Linked DNA regions of Homo sapiens: region 1 is linked to region 2. Evidence: promoter capture Hi-C in human tissues and cell types (Jung and others, 2019). All regions are on one chromosome and are shown on one strand. The core of a region is centred on a gene start or on the middle of the fragment in contact, and the rest is flanking DNA. Distances in the headings are between cores, read along the strand shown.

Region 1 (6,852 bases), core at 1,284-3,783, 320 kb before region 2:
AAATGTCAGCCAAGTCTAACTTCCTGAGCCACTGCTGTGAGAAATCTCTATTTTTGGAACCTAGAGGTCTTTTTTTCTTTCTTTTTTAACCACACCTATTTATAAAACCTTTGGACTTCATCATTTTTTTAATGTGATTTAGTATCTGCAACAACCTTAGTCTACAAGGTTGCTGGAAACGGTTAGACGTGTGATCGACTTTGTTCCTGCAAGATTATAATATCTCCTGATTAATTTCTTAAGTTTCAGTTATAGTCTGTTATTATGAAACATATGTGTATATATATTTTTAAAACTTGCAACCCTTGCTGTTTATTGACTGAACCAGGCATTGTATTAAGTTCTTCTCGTAAGTAATATCGTATAGGCTTACATATCTATGGGGCTATGTTATTTCTTTTTAACACATTAAAAATTAAAATGCTAGAGGTTTTAAACAAAGGTTACAGAAATATTAAATGGCAGAGCTAAATTCAAATCCAGGACTGTCAGACTCTAAATTAATGCCTGTTTATTATTTTACCAGTCTGGCTAAGTGAGAAAATAATGTGGTAAGACATGTCTAGTACTACTCTTTGTTTATCAGAGTATAATGGTGCCTAAAATACCTAAATTTCCTTTTTTTTAAAAAAAGAAATAATTTTTTATTTTTAGGTTTTTCCAAGTTACACTTTCCAGTAGTGTAAAGGTAGAAAGAGCAATTTGGGATTGTAGCTGTGATTAGAATAAAGAAAAGAGATCATAATTCATCTAAAAAGGACACTGTGGCTACTACAGGTGACAGATTTTTTTCTTTTAAATTAGGAGGAATTTCTAATGCAGCTGTGTAAAAATAGAATTAGTAGCTTTGAATAGGTAGCTAGTTTTTCAAACACTCATAAGGTATACTGCATAGATAAGAGGAATAGGTCATTAGAATAAACTGTCTGCTTGAGGACCATAAACCCAGTTGGACCTGGGCTACCTGTTTTTGTAAATGAAATTTTATTGGCACACAGCCACTTGGTTACATATTATGTATGGCTGCTTTTGTGCTGCAACTGCAGAGTTGAGTGTTTAGTCTGTAGTGCCTAAAATATTTATTATCTGGCTCATTCTGGGAAGAGTTTACCAACTCCTCCTATATAAAGTAAGCCCCCAGGAATATGTTTTTACTTGACTGATCCCACAAAAAAGGAGGGAAACTTTAAGCTGAAGTTTAGTAACTCATTTGTTCTTTCCAAGGTTAGCACAGAAGCTACACAGTGGTCTCCTTTGCTAATTAGTAGATTCAGGCCATATCATGAGCTTCATTTAGTTATGAAAAGCTAAGCTAAAGACTGTTTCCTGGCATTCTTAGTTCCATCAGCCTAATTGAAAACCCCAACCAAGTTATTCTCTCTTAGTTTTGATTTTATTTATCTAAATGTAAAGCACATTTAGCATCAAATGAAGTTCATTGTGACCTCAGACAATGGGAGGCACCCACATGTGGGAGTGCTGGAAATAAACCTAGTGTCTAGCTGATGGGAAGCATTGTGCGAAGAAAAAGGAACTTGTCTGTCCAGTGAGATCTTTGCTGACTTTTTGTACTTTGACCCCATGTTTTTAAAAAATGAAGGACTTTAATTTTTTTTTAAGTTCATTTCCAAACTGGTACCTTTTTCTCACCAAACCTTTTTTACTGTTTCTATAAATATATGTGCTCCAATGTTTCTATTTTGTTTGTTTTTTCTTTCGGCCAGCTGTTTAGGTTAAAGTGGGTCATGTAGCACACACTCTTTTAAGGTCAATCCCAAATCTTGAGGTACCTTCTGTACATTACTGTTTTAGTACTTGTAACAGTGCCATGTTTGCATGAATGAAAATACATAATGCTCATTTTCATTTTTCTATGACGTTCCAAAATACTCTTTTGATACCTTTCATGTCAGCTTAGATCATTTATAAGACATTGATGTGTTAGGACTCCCTGACCTCCTTTGGTGAAGAAGTAATAAGCAAATCTTATAGGCTGGCTACATATAAACCTATCTGGCCGTGGGTAGATTTGCCAGTCCTCTGCACACCCCCACTCTACCCCAACAAATACATGTGAAATCAATTTTTTGACAGTTGCCTCCATTAAGACTTCATATCTGAATTACACTAATGGAGTTTACATTTTACATCCCCCCCCCCTTTTTTTTTTTTTTTTTTTGAAACAGGGTCTCACTGTATCACCCCAGCTGGAGTGCAGTAGCACAATCATGGTTCACCGCAACCTCAACTCCTTGGGCTCAGGTGATCTTCCATCTCAGCCTCCTGAGTAGCTGCCACAGGCACCTGTCATCACACCTGGCTAATTTTTTTACTTTTTGTAGAGACAAAGTTTCACCATGTTGCCCAGGCTGGTCTTAAACTCCTTGACTCAAGCAGTCCGCCCACCTTGGCCTCCCAAAGTGCTAGGATTACAGGCGTGAGCCACCGCACCTGGCCTACTTCCCTTTTAAGAGACCTATACAAAAGTTATTTAATGATAGTGGTGTCAGCATCTCAGAGGGTTGGAGGAAGAAGGTGGAAATAATGCAAGCATTAGGTAAAAGATTTAAACTTTTCTCCTTTGGAAGCCATGGCTAAGGTACTACTCAGACTTTGGTCATTGTGTCAGAGTCAGAATCAGAGATAAGAAAGATAAATACCACATAATATCACTCATAAGTAGAAGCTAAATAATATATACACATAGAAGCAGGGTGTGGGTTGATGGGTAGTGGGGACTTAGAGGGATGGCATGGGTGGTTGATGGCAGGTTGCTTGGTGAGTACAATGTGTGTTGCTACAGTGATGGATGCACTGAAGGCCCTGACTTCACCACAGTGCAATATATCAATGTAGCAAAATTGTACTTCTACCCCATGAATATATACAAGTTGTAAAACAAATTTTTAAAGCCAGATAACTTGCTATATACCTGTTTAGAGTAAGGATATGGAGCTGCCATCCCCGTGTTGTAGAATTTATTTCATTTTTAAATGTTTGATTTAGTGTGAAAGGTAACAGATTGCTACTTCAGTCAGAGAGTCTGAGAAAGGAGGGTAAACATTACTGAAATTGTAGTCTTGGCCTTTGTAAGAAGTGTAGAAGTTGAGTGCAGAGGGTACCTAGGTGAGATGATTAGGGCTCCAAGAGTTTGTCCCCAGCTTGACTTCTGTCAAACTCTCTGAGAAGGATGTTTTTTCCTTCTCATTGTGAACATTCTACCCTCAAGGCACTGAAAGCTTTCATCGTTGCCTGCTTTTGAAAAGGAAGTTATTGGACTTCTGCCTACCTTGGCTGCAACTGGAGTGAGAGGAGATGCAGGAAAGTGAGAAAGTGCACTTTAACCTGGCAGTGTTTGCTTTACATGTGTTATGTCATGATAAGAATAAGGGGTCTCATTAAAAACATTAATGCTGCATTAGGAGAATGCTTCATTCTCTTATTTTGTATTTTGACAGTTCTGCCCCCAACCTCATTTTGCTAGAACTAGAAAAGTGCTTTTATTATTATTTTTTTCTGAGATGGAGTTTTGCTCTTATTGCCCAGGCTGGAGTGCAATGGTGCAATCTCAGCTCGCTGTAACCTCCGCCTCCTGGGTTCAAGCAATTCTCCTGCCTCAGCCTCCTGAGTAGCTGGGATTACAGGTGCCTGCCACCATGCCTGGCTAATTTTTTGTATTTTTAGTAGACACAGGGTTTCAGCTTGTTGGCCAGGCTGGTCTCGAACCCCTGATCTCAGGTGATCCACCTGCCTCGGCCACCCAAAGTGCTGGGATTACAGGCATGAGCCACCGTGCCCGGATGAAAAGTGCTTTTAAAAAAGCATACCCCGTCTCTACTAAAAATACAAAAAAAAAAATTAGCCAGACATGGTGGCAGGCGCCTGTAGTCCCAGCTACTCGGGAGGCTGAGGCAGGATAATGACGTGAACCCGGGAGGTGGAGCTTGCAGTGAGCCGAGATTGCGCCACTGCACTCCAGCCTGGGCGACAGAGCGAGACTCTGTCTCAAAAAATAAATAAATAAATAAAATAAAAATAAATAAAAAAGCATAAAATAATTCAATTTTTTTGAAGGACTTTTAGAAACTGTTTAATTTTAGAAACTATCTGATTGTGATACATGCTAACACACTCATATACTCCCTCCTCCCCACAACACACACACAGCCTCTCTTTGTCGCTCATAAAGTCCTTCGGAAGCTTTCTCAGTGCTTTTAGGAGTATGACAGAAGTCCTTACATGGCCAACAGGAACCTGCATGGTCTTTTCACCACTTACTGTGTCTTCCTCATCTTTCTGTTGTGCTCCCCCTTGTGCTCTCCTCCAGCCCTGCTGTCATTCCTCCACATGGAAGTCTTTTTTTTTTTTTTTTTTTTTTTGAGACAGAGTCTCGCTCTGTCGCCAGGCTGGAGTGCAGTGGCGCAATCTCGGCTTACTGCAACCTCCGCCTCCTGGGTTCAAGCGATTCTCCTGCCTCAGCCCCCCAAGTAGCTGGGACTATAGGAGCACACCACCACGTCCAGCTAATTTTTGTATTTTTAGTAGAGACAGGGTTTCACCATGTTGGCCAGATCTGCTGACCTGGTCGTGATCTCCTGACCTTGTGATCCACCCACGTTGGTCTCCCAAAGTGCTGGGATTACAGGTGTGAGCCACCGCACCCGGCCAGGAAGTCTTTTTTGACTCCTGCCATGTTCTCCTGGCACTTCTTCCTTATACAGAGATCACACATGCACATTGTACATTTGCTCAGTGAGTGTAGGGACTGCTGCTCTGGTTTTCTTGTTTGTTTGTTGCTTATTTCTGTATCACCAGGATCTAACACAATGCTTGGTTAGCTGTACCCGAGTATTTACTGAGTGCATGAATTCCATCCATTGTATTTTCTGTAGCTACCTGATCTTTATTTGAACCTTTCAAGATATCTCATTCCATTTTGGTGTTCTTATTATAATAGAAATTAGAGAAAATATTTGCAACCAAAATGAGAAAAAGGTAATATTAATATACAAAGAGCTCATATAAGTTACTGAAGAAAATGTCTAAAGCCCTAATAAATAGGCAAAGAATGTAAATAGCTAAGTCACAAAAGAAATCTTAGAATGCTTAAAAGATCCAGGTGCAATGGTTCATGCCTGTAATCCCAACACTTTAGGAGGCCAAGGCAGTAGGATCACTTGAAGCCAGGAGTTACAAGCTTAGCAACAAAGCAAGACCTCATCTCTACAAAAAACAAAAAAATAAAAAAACTAGCCAGGCGTAGTGGCACTCACCTGTAGTCCCAGCTATTCTAGAGCCAAGGGAGGGAGGATTGCCTTGAGCCCAGGGATTTGACGCTATGGTGAGCTATGATCGTGTCACTGCACTCAGCCTGGGCAATAAAGAGACACACTGACTCTTAAAAAAAATGGCCAAAAGAGATCTGAGAATAATTATCTTTACTAGGCATCAAATAAGTGCAAATCAAAGCAAACTGCCACCTATTAATTGAGCAAAACATTTAATTGATAATCTATTTTTCAGAATGTATTGGTCTAGTTAGAATATCAATTCTTACCTTTCTGACAGATGACTAGTCCTTTGTAAATACCCAGTCACCTCTTTTCAGTTAAAGTTGCTGTCTCCAAGGAGTTTGCAATCTAATTGGGGAGGTAAAATCTCAACTCAAGAAATGAGAAGTCAGCATGAAAACCCATTGATGTCGTATTGCTTTTGCTGCTCTGATGTGGTGGCTCACACCTGTAATCCCAGCACTTTGGGAGGCTGGGGTGAGAGGATCACTTGAACCCAGGAGTTCAAGAGCAGCCTGGGTAACATGGCCAAACCCTGTGTCAAAAAAAGTTTTTAAAAATTAGCCCGGCGTGGTGGCACATGCCTGTAGTCCCAGCTACTCAGGAGGCTGAGGTGAGAGGATGGCTGGAGGCTGGCAAGTAGAGGCTGTAATGAACTGAGATGGTGCCACCAGAAGGACGGAGTTTCCCTTAACCAAGATAATATGTATAGTGGCTAGTCTGGCACATGGCACTTACTGGGTATTCCATAAAGAGTAGTTTATTTCCCCAAAATGTAGAGTAAGAGTGAAAGACTTTGATCCAATGTACTTCTGTCCACCTACACAAGCAAATAGAATGTTTCACCAGAATAATTAGACAAAAAATTTTATATGTAATTGGCACATTGGAATCCTTGTAAATTACTCCTTCTGTTGGCCAAGAGATTTACTCCTTTGGTGGAACTTGTGTTTTTCCATATGACAATAATATAGTAATGGCAAGTATATCAATAATAATAAAACTTTTTTTAAAAAGTAAAGGGAAAATCTTACCAAATTAATGTTTCATTTTAAGGAAAATATGACTCTATGCCCATTTTTTTCCTTCCAGGATGTTGCCTTATGGCTGTTTAGCAACAGGAGATCGCTCTGGCCTCATTGAAGTTGTGAGCACCTCTGAAACAATTGCTGACATTCAGCTGAACAGTAGCAATGTGGCTGCTGCAGCAGCCTTCAACAAAGATGCCCTTCTGAACTGGCTTAAAGAATACAACTCTGGGTTAGTTTATTCTGTTTAATTATCATTTTTCTGTACAAACAGCCAAACAAATACTGTATGCTCCCAATAGAAGTCAGCAGTGTGTTAGAGGAAATATTAGTGTTTTTTATCTATTGCTTCATTTCTTGTTAGAACAAAATGACACATAGCCCTTCGTAAAGTCTTGTAAATGGTGAATGTTGAATTCTACTTTATCTAAATCAAATTTTGGAGCCCCGCAGTAAAGTTACAATCTATGAATTTAAGTATTTAAAGATAACATACTGAAGCCTTTGTTCAAGTGCATCAGCTTCTCTAATTA
Region 2 (6,452 bases), core at 3,109-5,608:
TTTATCTAATCCCCATGACGACACTGAGGGCTGGGCAGAGAAGTCACAGATGCAGCCTGGGCCCAGGCAGCACAGGATCCAGACAAGGCCCTACAGATGGTCACAGAGGCCAGAACCAGAGCTCCCAACTCTCCACCCACCCTCCTTTGCTTGGCCACTACAAGCTGCACAGCCGAATTCATTATTGGTGCTCTCCAAAATCTTACTAGCACTACAACCCATATGTAAATCATATTGTTTTATCCGTCAAGGTAGCCTGATGCGAGGACTATACCCCTCTGAGACTCAGAAGGTCACTTCAGCAACCGGTGATGACCCACATTGTCATGCAGCAGTCCCCACCTAGTGAAGCTACCAAGAATATTAAAGACAATGATAGGGACATTAAGAAGCAAAATACAAAAAATACATTTTTATATATAACATATAACCAAAAAAATCAAATAATAAGGATTGGACTAGAATATAAAAATATTTTTTAATATAACAACAACAAAAAGAAGCAAAATACACATTGCTGCTTCATGACTCCTACAAGAGGAATGCCTGCAGAAAGCTGTCTTAGATCATGCTGGCCAGCTAAATGGCCCTAGGGGCTCAGTGCTGGGGGCCAGGGCAAGGAGGGCCAGGGTGGAGTCTCTGGGAATAGGTGGAACCAACTGCATCACACAGGTAGCGGGAATGCTTCCTAGAGAACAAGAGATGGGGCACCATTGAATGCATGGCGAGTGCAGCGTGGTCTCCACCTCAGCCTGAACCTCATCACCTCTGCGGAAGCATGAGGCAGTGCCAGCACTGCCCTCTTTGTCAGACCCACTGGCTGACTGCACAGACTTCAACTCACAGGCTGGGCAATGACAACTGTCCCACTCTATTTGTACTCTTGGCCCCCATCTCTGCCCTCTCACACTGCACTGGAATGGCATGCTGACTTGGCTGCACAATGGGCTTACAGAATAGGTCTGCCATGAACATTAGAGAAGTCACGTGCCTTTAGATCAGAGATGGCTAAACTGGGATCCAGGGCTGGTTTTCAGAGATCCATGAATCCCCTGAATTATATGTCCAACTTTGTACATCAACGTTCCCTGGGCTTCTCATCAACATATTAAAGAGGCTGTGACTCAAGAAGACAAAACCTATTACTCTGAACTCCAGACACTCAGCCTTTATGGCTACCTGTCCCATGCAGGAACTTGCTGGAAGTGGCACTGATATCCCATTCCTGTGTACAGAGACCTTCCAAGAGCAGAGAGCATCTTTGGGAGATCTGAGCTCTGCTTAATCTTACTTACTGTTATTTGGGTTTTGTTACTTGCAGCCAAAGCATCCCCATTGATTCAGTACTACAGGGCTCAGAGGCATGATCTAAGACTTAGGAGGGCTGACAGGGACTCAGAGTCCAGCAAGAAAATTCCTCTTAAAGCTTGAATTCTCTGCTGAGTCCCTAGACAATGGGTACCTGCCAGGTGTCCCAGGTCTCAGGGAACTCCTCCAGCTCCTTTTTTACCTGTCTCCAGATAAAGGTGACTGTACCTTCTATGCCTGCCCAGGGCCTGGCAGGTACAGAGCCTCTGGAACTCAATGCACATCCTCTGGACACTTAAGAACATTCCAGCATTGCACAAGAATGCATTCCCATTCAGTTCACATGAGTATGCTTGTACAAACTACACAATGCTCATGAGCAGGTATGTTTTTCAATTGCTTTCAGGGAGACACACTCTGTTTGGGGGCATTTCATTGGCAGAACAGATTACAATGGTTAAATCTGATGTGAAATATATTATGGAAGCCACATTTCCCTGAGAACTCACTAGATCCAGGAGGCTGGTCAACATGTGATTCTGACTGAGGTTAGGACCAGTCATCCCAGGAGCCTAATTTATCAGAGGCCAATAGTCATTCCTGGTTCCAGGTGATCACTAGAGCTTAGGAACCAAACCAACCCCAAGGGTAACTGACTTGTCACTTTTTTTTTTTTTTTTTTTTTTGAGACAGGGTCTTGCTCTGTCACCCAAGCTGGAGTGCAGTGGCGTGATCATGGCTCACTCCAACCTCTGCCTTCTGGGCTTAAGCAATCCTCCCACCTCAGCCTCCCAAGTAGCTAAGACTACAGGTGCATGCCACCAGGCCCAGCTAATTTTTGTAGAGACGGAGTTTCACCATGTTGCCCTGGCTGGACTTGTCACTTTATAAGTAGCTCAGACGAACTGAGTATGAAATACCAGTGGCTAGAGCTAATAATAACATAAAAGTTAAACCTGTCATAAAGTGTCTTATGTAGGTGAAAACAGAGGTGGAAATTAGCAACTGTCTTATGGAGGAGCGAAGCTGACAACGCTGGAGACAATCGCTTGCTTCACCAAAGGGCCTTGACTACCGCCTACCCCAGTCCCGCCCCCAGCTTTAGGAAATGCCGAGGTCACATCTAGGGGGTCAGTTTCCACCAGAGCACGAGGCTTGCCCAACACCTCCCTCCCCAGAGGCTGGCAGACCTCAAAAACCCCAGAGCATGAAAGCCCCATGCCTCCCACCCCGGCAGAAAAAGGACAAACTACACCATAAACTACAGAGAGAAGCTAACTGGCTGCTGGGCAGTGTGAACAGACCTAAGGGTGAAAACCATTGCCCGAAACATTTTCAGCCCCACTCAGCAGGGACATGTGATTTACAGGAAATTAGGAGGTTTACAAAATGTTAGCAGCTCAAGTTTCTTCCCCGGGAAAAGAAGCAGGAGAAGCTCTAAGAACCGTATCCGAGAAAGTGCTTTGTTCACTGCTAAGCTTCTGACACGAGTCAGTTATTAATACCCACAGCTCACTGCCTCACACTTCAACCCACCAGTGAATGTCTATAGTGAATAATTATAAAACAATATATTACAAAACTCTAACACAGGCTGCACCAGAGCCTTCCGAAGCCCAGGACAGCCACGTGGCCAAAAGCATGGACTTCAGATATGATCTTGGGCAAGCTGTTGGCTCTTTTTCACCCCAGTTCCTCCATCCTTTACAATAAACAAAATCCTTCTGGAGGTGTCTTGTCAAGAGGTGTCTTGTCAAATGATGAGCAAATCCACTTCAAGTGCCTGGTCTTTGGAAGCCCTGTTGGTTGCTGTTATTACAGTGGAGTTTCAGAGCTCTTAAAGTCATATCTCCATCTTACTTCTGCTGCCAGACAAACCTCTGGAGGCCACGATTCCGAGCCTTGTCAGCCACCCTCTCTGGTCAGGTCCAGGACAGAGTGAGTCCTAGAGGAGCAAGGCCAGGGAGGTTCCACACCATCAGGGGCCATTGGGGAGTAGGGGCAATGGCAGAGCTCTATGATCAAGGCCCCAGTGGCCTTGATGGACTCTGTCCACCTCTCCAGACTCCACTTTGCCCCAGGCCAGAACAGACCTCAGCTCTAGCCAGAGTCTAACTGGGTGTCCAGTGTATACGCTGCGGCCAGCCAGACATTAACTCCTCTAGGCGGCCTTCTCTCACCTCCCACTCTGCAGTAGGGACCCCTAGGGGCTCCCACAACCCCTGGGCTTACCGAATCTCAGCACTTACCACACTGGCTTGTCACTTTGTGCTCTTGTCTTCCCCGCAGGGCAGGACTGGCACCGTGTCTGATGCCTCAGCCAGATCAGTTCAATGCATGAGCCCAGGCCCTAGTTGTGACCACAGCTCCAGCTCCCCAAACCTCCGGGGGCAGTGAAGGGTTGTTTATGAAGCAGGCTGCGTTTTATTATTCAGATGAATTTGTCAACTCCCTGGCGGATCCCTCCCCTCGTTAACGCCATCTTAAGGCGGGGGGGTAAAGAGTCCCCCACCCACCCACCCATCCCCCGCCGCCCCGTCCTGCCGCCCATCTATCCACCGGGTTCTCGCCCAGGCAGCCAAGGAACTGTAATTACCATGAAAGGGTCTCTCTGAGCGGCGCGCAGGCCCTCCCCACTGGGGTCTTGGTCGTGGCCGATTTCACGAACGCACACCGTTACGCGGGAGCCCGCGATGGGGGCAAAACGCCACGCACAGCCGGTCCCAGGGCGCACCCCGCAAGCGGAGAGCGCGGCCGAGCCCGGAGGGCGGCCACACCTCCCGCCCCGGAACAAAGCGACGGCCGGGGCGAGAGGCGGCGCGGCCGGGCCCCCTCCCCTCCAAGGCCGCCCGACCACTCACCGCGCGCTCCAGCCCCGGCTCGGCTACGGCACTCAGGCCGCCCCCTCCTAGCCTGCGCCGGTGAGGAGGCAGCGTCGCGCCCGCCGGGCCCCGCGGCCGCCGGACTGACGGCTCCCCGCCAGCCGGCCACTCCGGTCCGTCCCCGCCCCGGCGCCTCCTTAAAGCGACCGCGCCGCCAGCGTGCGCCCCGAGCGCCTAGCGCGCCGCGCATTCCTTATATTGCCACAGCGCCTGCTAAAAATAGAGCGCCGCTGCGGGCGCGCCAGTGGGGAGCCCGGGCCGGGTGCCTCGACCCTGTCGCCCCCGCGTGCACCCCGGCCCCCAGGACGCGCGCCTACGAAGTCCAGCCCACCCGCGCCGAGTCCCCTGGGCCCGGCAGGGCGCGCTAGAGCGCCAGGGGCTGGGGTCGGCGCCGCAGCCTCTCCCGCGGCCCAGCACTTACCCGGGTCAGATCCGTGGTGCCGGGGAGCTGGCTTTAAGGTGGACGCCGAGTGGGAATTCGACTCGGCCTCTTTAAGAGCCTCTGCGCTCCAACCTTTAAATCTCCGCTCCGGCCGGGCCAACTTCTGAGCCTAGGGACGCCTCCCCAGTCCTAGGCGAACCTCCGCCGCCACCTTAGCTGCATTCCCTTCGAATCCTGAGACGTCTTTCTTCCAGATCATGCCCCAGCGTCTCTCCCCGCAGGCCTTCTGGGTGCACCGTTCCAGGGCCCAAACTTCGTTGGGATGGATGCGACGGGGACAGGCGACACTCGCGCACCATTTCATTGTTTCAGTTCCGCTAACTCCTCTCCAGCGGCGTCATTTTCCCCCCGTTAAAAAAATAAAGATATAATTCAACACCATAAAATTCCACCTTTTGAAGTGTACAATTCAAGCCGGGCGCGGTGGCTCACGCCTGTAATCCTAACACTTTGGGAGGCCGAGGCGGGTGAATCGCCTGAGGTCAGGAGTTCAAGACCAGCCTAGGCAACATGGTGAAACCCCGTCTCTACTAAAAATACAAAAGTCAACCCGGCATGGCGGCACGTGCCTGTGATCTCATCTACTCGGGAGGCTGAGGCAGGAGAATCACGTGAACCCGGGAGGCAGAGGTTGTAGTGAGCCGAGATTGCGCTACTGCACTCTAGCCTGGGCAACAGAGTGAGACGCTGTCTCAAAAAAAAAAAAGTGTACGATTCAGTGGTGTTTAGCATATTCACAAAGTTTTGCAACCATCACCATGAGCTAATTCCAGAACATTTTCACCACTTCCCACTCCCCTCCCCTGCCCCTCACAAAAAGAACTACCCGTTAGCAGTCACTCCTCATTCACCCCTTTCCTCCGCCTCTGGGAACCACTAATCTACTTTCAATCTCTATGGATTTCCCTATTCAGGACATTTTCTATAAACGGAATCATACAACATGTGGCCTTTTGTGACTATGACTAGCTTCTTTCAGTAACCAATGTTTAATGATCTATTCATGTTGTAACATGTAGCAGTACTTCATTCCTTTTCATGACTGAGTAATATTTCACTGTATGTCTATACGTTTTGTTTATCCCTGCATCACTTGATGGATATTTAGTTTTCTGCTTTGGGGCTACTGTGAATAAAGCTGCTATGAATATTCATGTACAAGTCTTTGTATGAACATATGCTTTTCTTTCTCTTGGGTATATACCTAAGAGTGGAATTCCTGGATCATATGTTAACTCCATGTTTAACTTTTGGGGGAACTGCCAAACTGTTTTCCAAAGCAGCTGCACCATTTTACATTCCCACCAACAACATATGAGGGTTCCAATATCTCCACATCTTTGCAAACACTTGTAATTGTGTGTCTTTTTTTATTCTAGTCATCCTATTGGGGGCGAAATGGCATTTCATTGTGGTTTTGATTGTCAGCATCATTTCTGAGGACATTCTTTTTCTGGGTGGACCTCAATGACTTAGAACCAGCTTTACATGTCCAGGGAACCCACTCCCTTCTCAGGTTTGCCCCAGGCCTAAGGGAGCCTCACAGTGCTGCTGGCTCTGCCTGCCATGCTGAGGCTCTTAATCCCATGCAGGCTTCCTTTGGCATCCCAGCCACCCATGCAGCCATTTGGTGGGAGCTGCTGTGCACCCCCTGTGCCTCCACTCCCACCTGCTGCTCCAAAGACCCTGTAGACCCCAAGTGTCCCCCAGGAAGGGGACAGCAGGTTGGGTGCCATCAAGAGTATCTCTCCTTGGCAGTAGGGAGTAAAAGACCTGGTTGGGGAGAAGGCTTGAGGGACAGTAGTTTACCTCGACTGTCT

What was found. Contacts are between HindIII fragments. The study calls those that stand out against the background at their distance.
Region 1: a contact is called between a fragment that was not itself captured here and the fragment with the promoter of MRAS in region 2, in 2 of the 25 tissues and cell types used here (liver and thymus).

The regions. Positions count from the first base shown.
Region 1 is chr3:138,664,735-138,671,586 of GRCh38, reverse strand. PIK3CB (phosphatidylinositol-4,5-bisphosphate 3-kinase catalytic subunit beta) reads left to right here. Exons shown (of 24, transcript NM_006219.3): 20 at 6,384-6,551. Among named protein-coding and RNA genes, the nearest start is that of FAIM, 59 kb to the right of the region's middle. The HindIII fragment of the contact is 4,333 bases long and covers 367-4,699 here.
Region 2 is chr3:138,346,485-138,352,936 of GRCh38, reverse strand. MRAS (muscle RAS oncogene homolog) reads right to left here and starts at 4,358. Exons shown (of 6, transcript NM_001085049.3): 1 at 4,170-4,358. RefSeq lists an enhancer at 3,891-4,846. The HindIII fragment of the contact is 6,288 bases long and covers 2,107-6,452 here.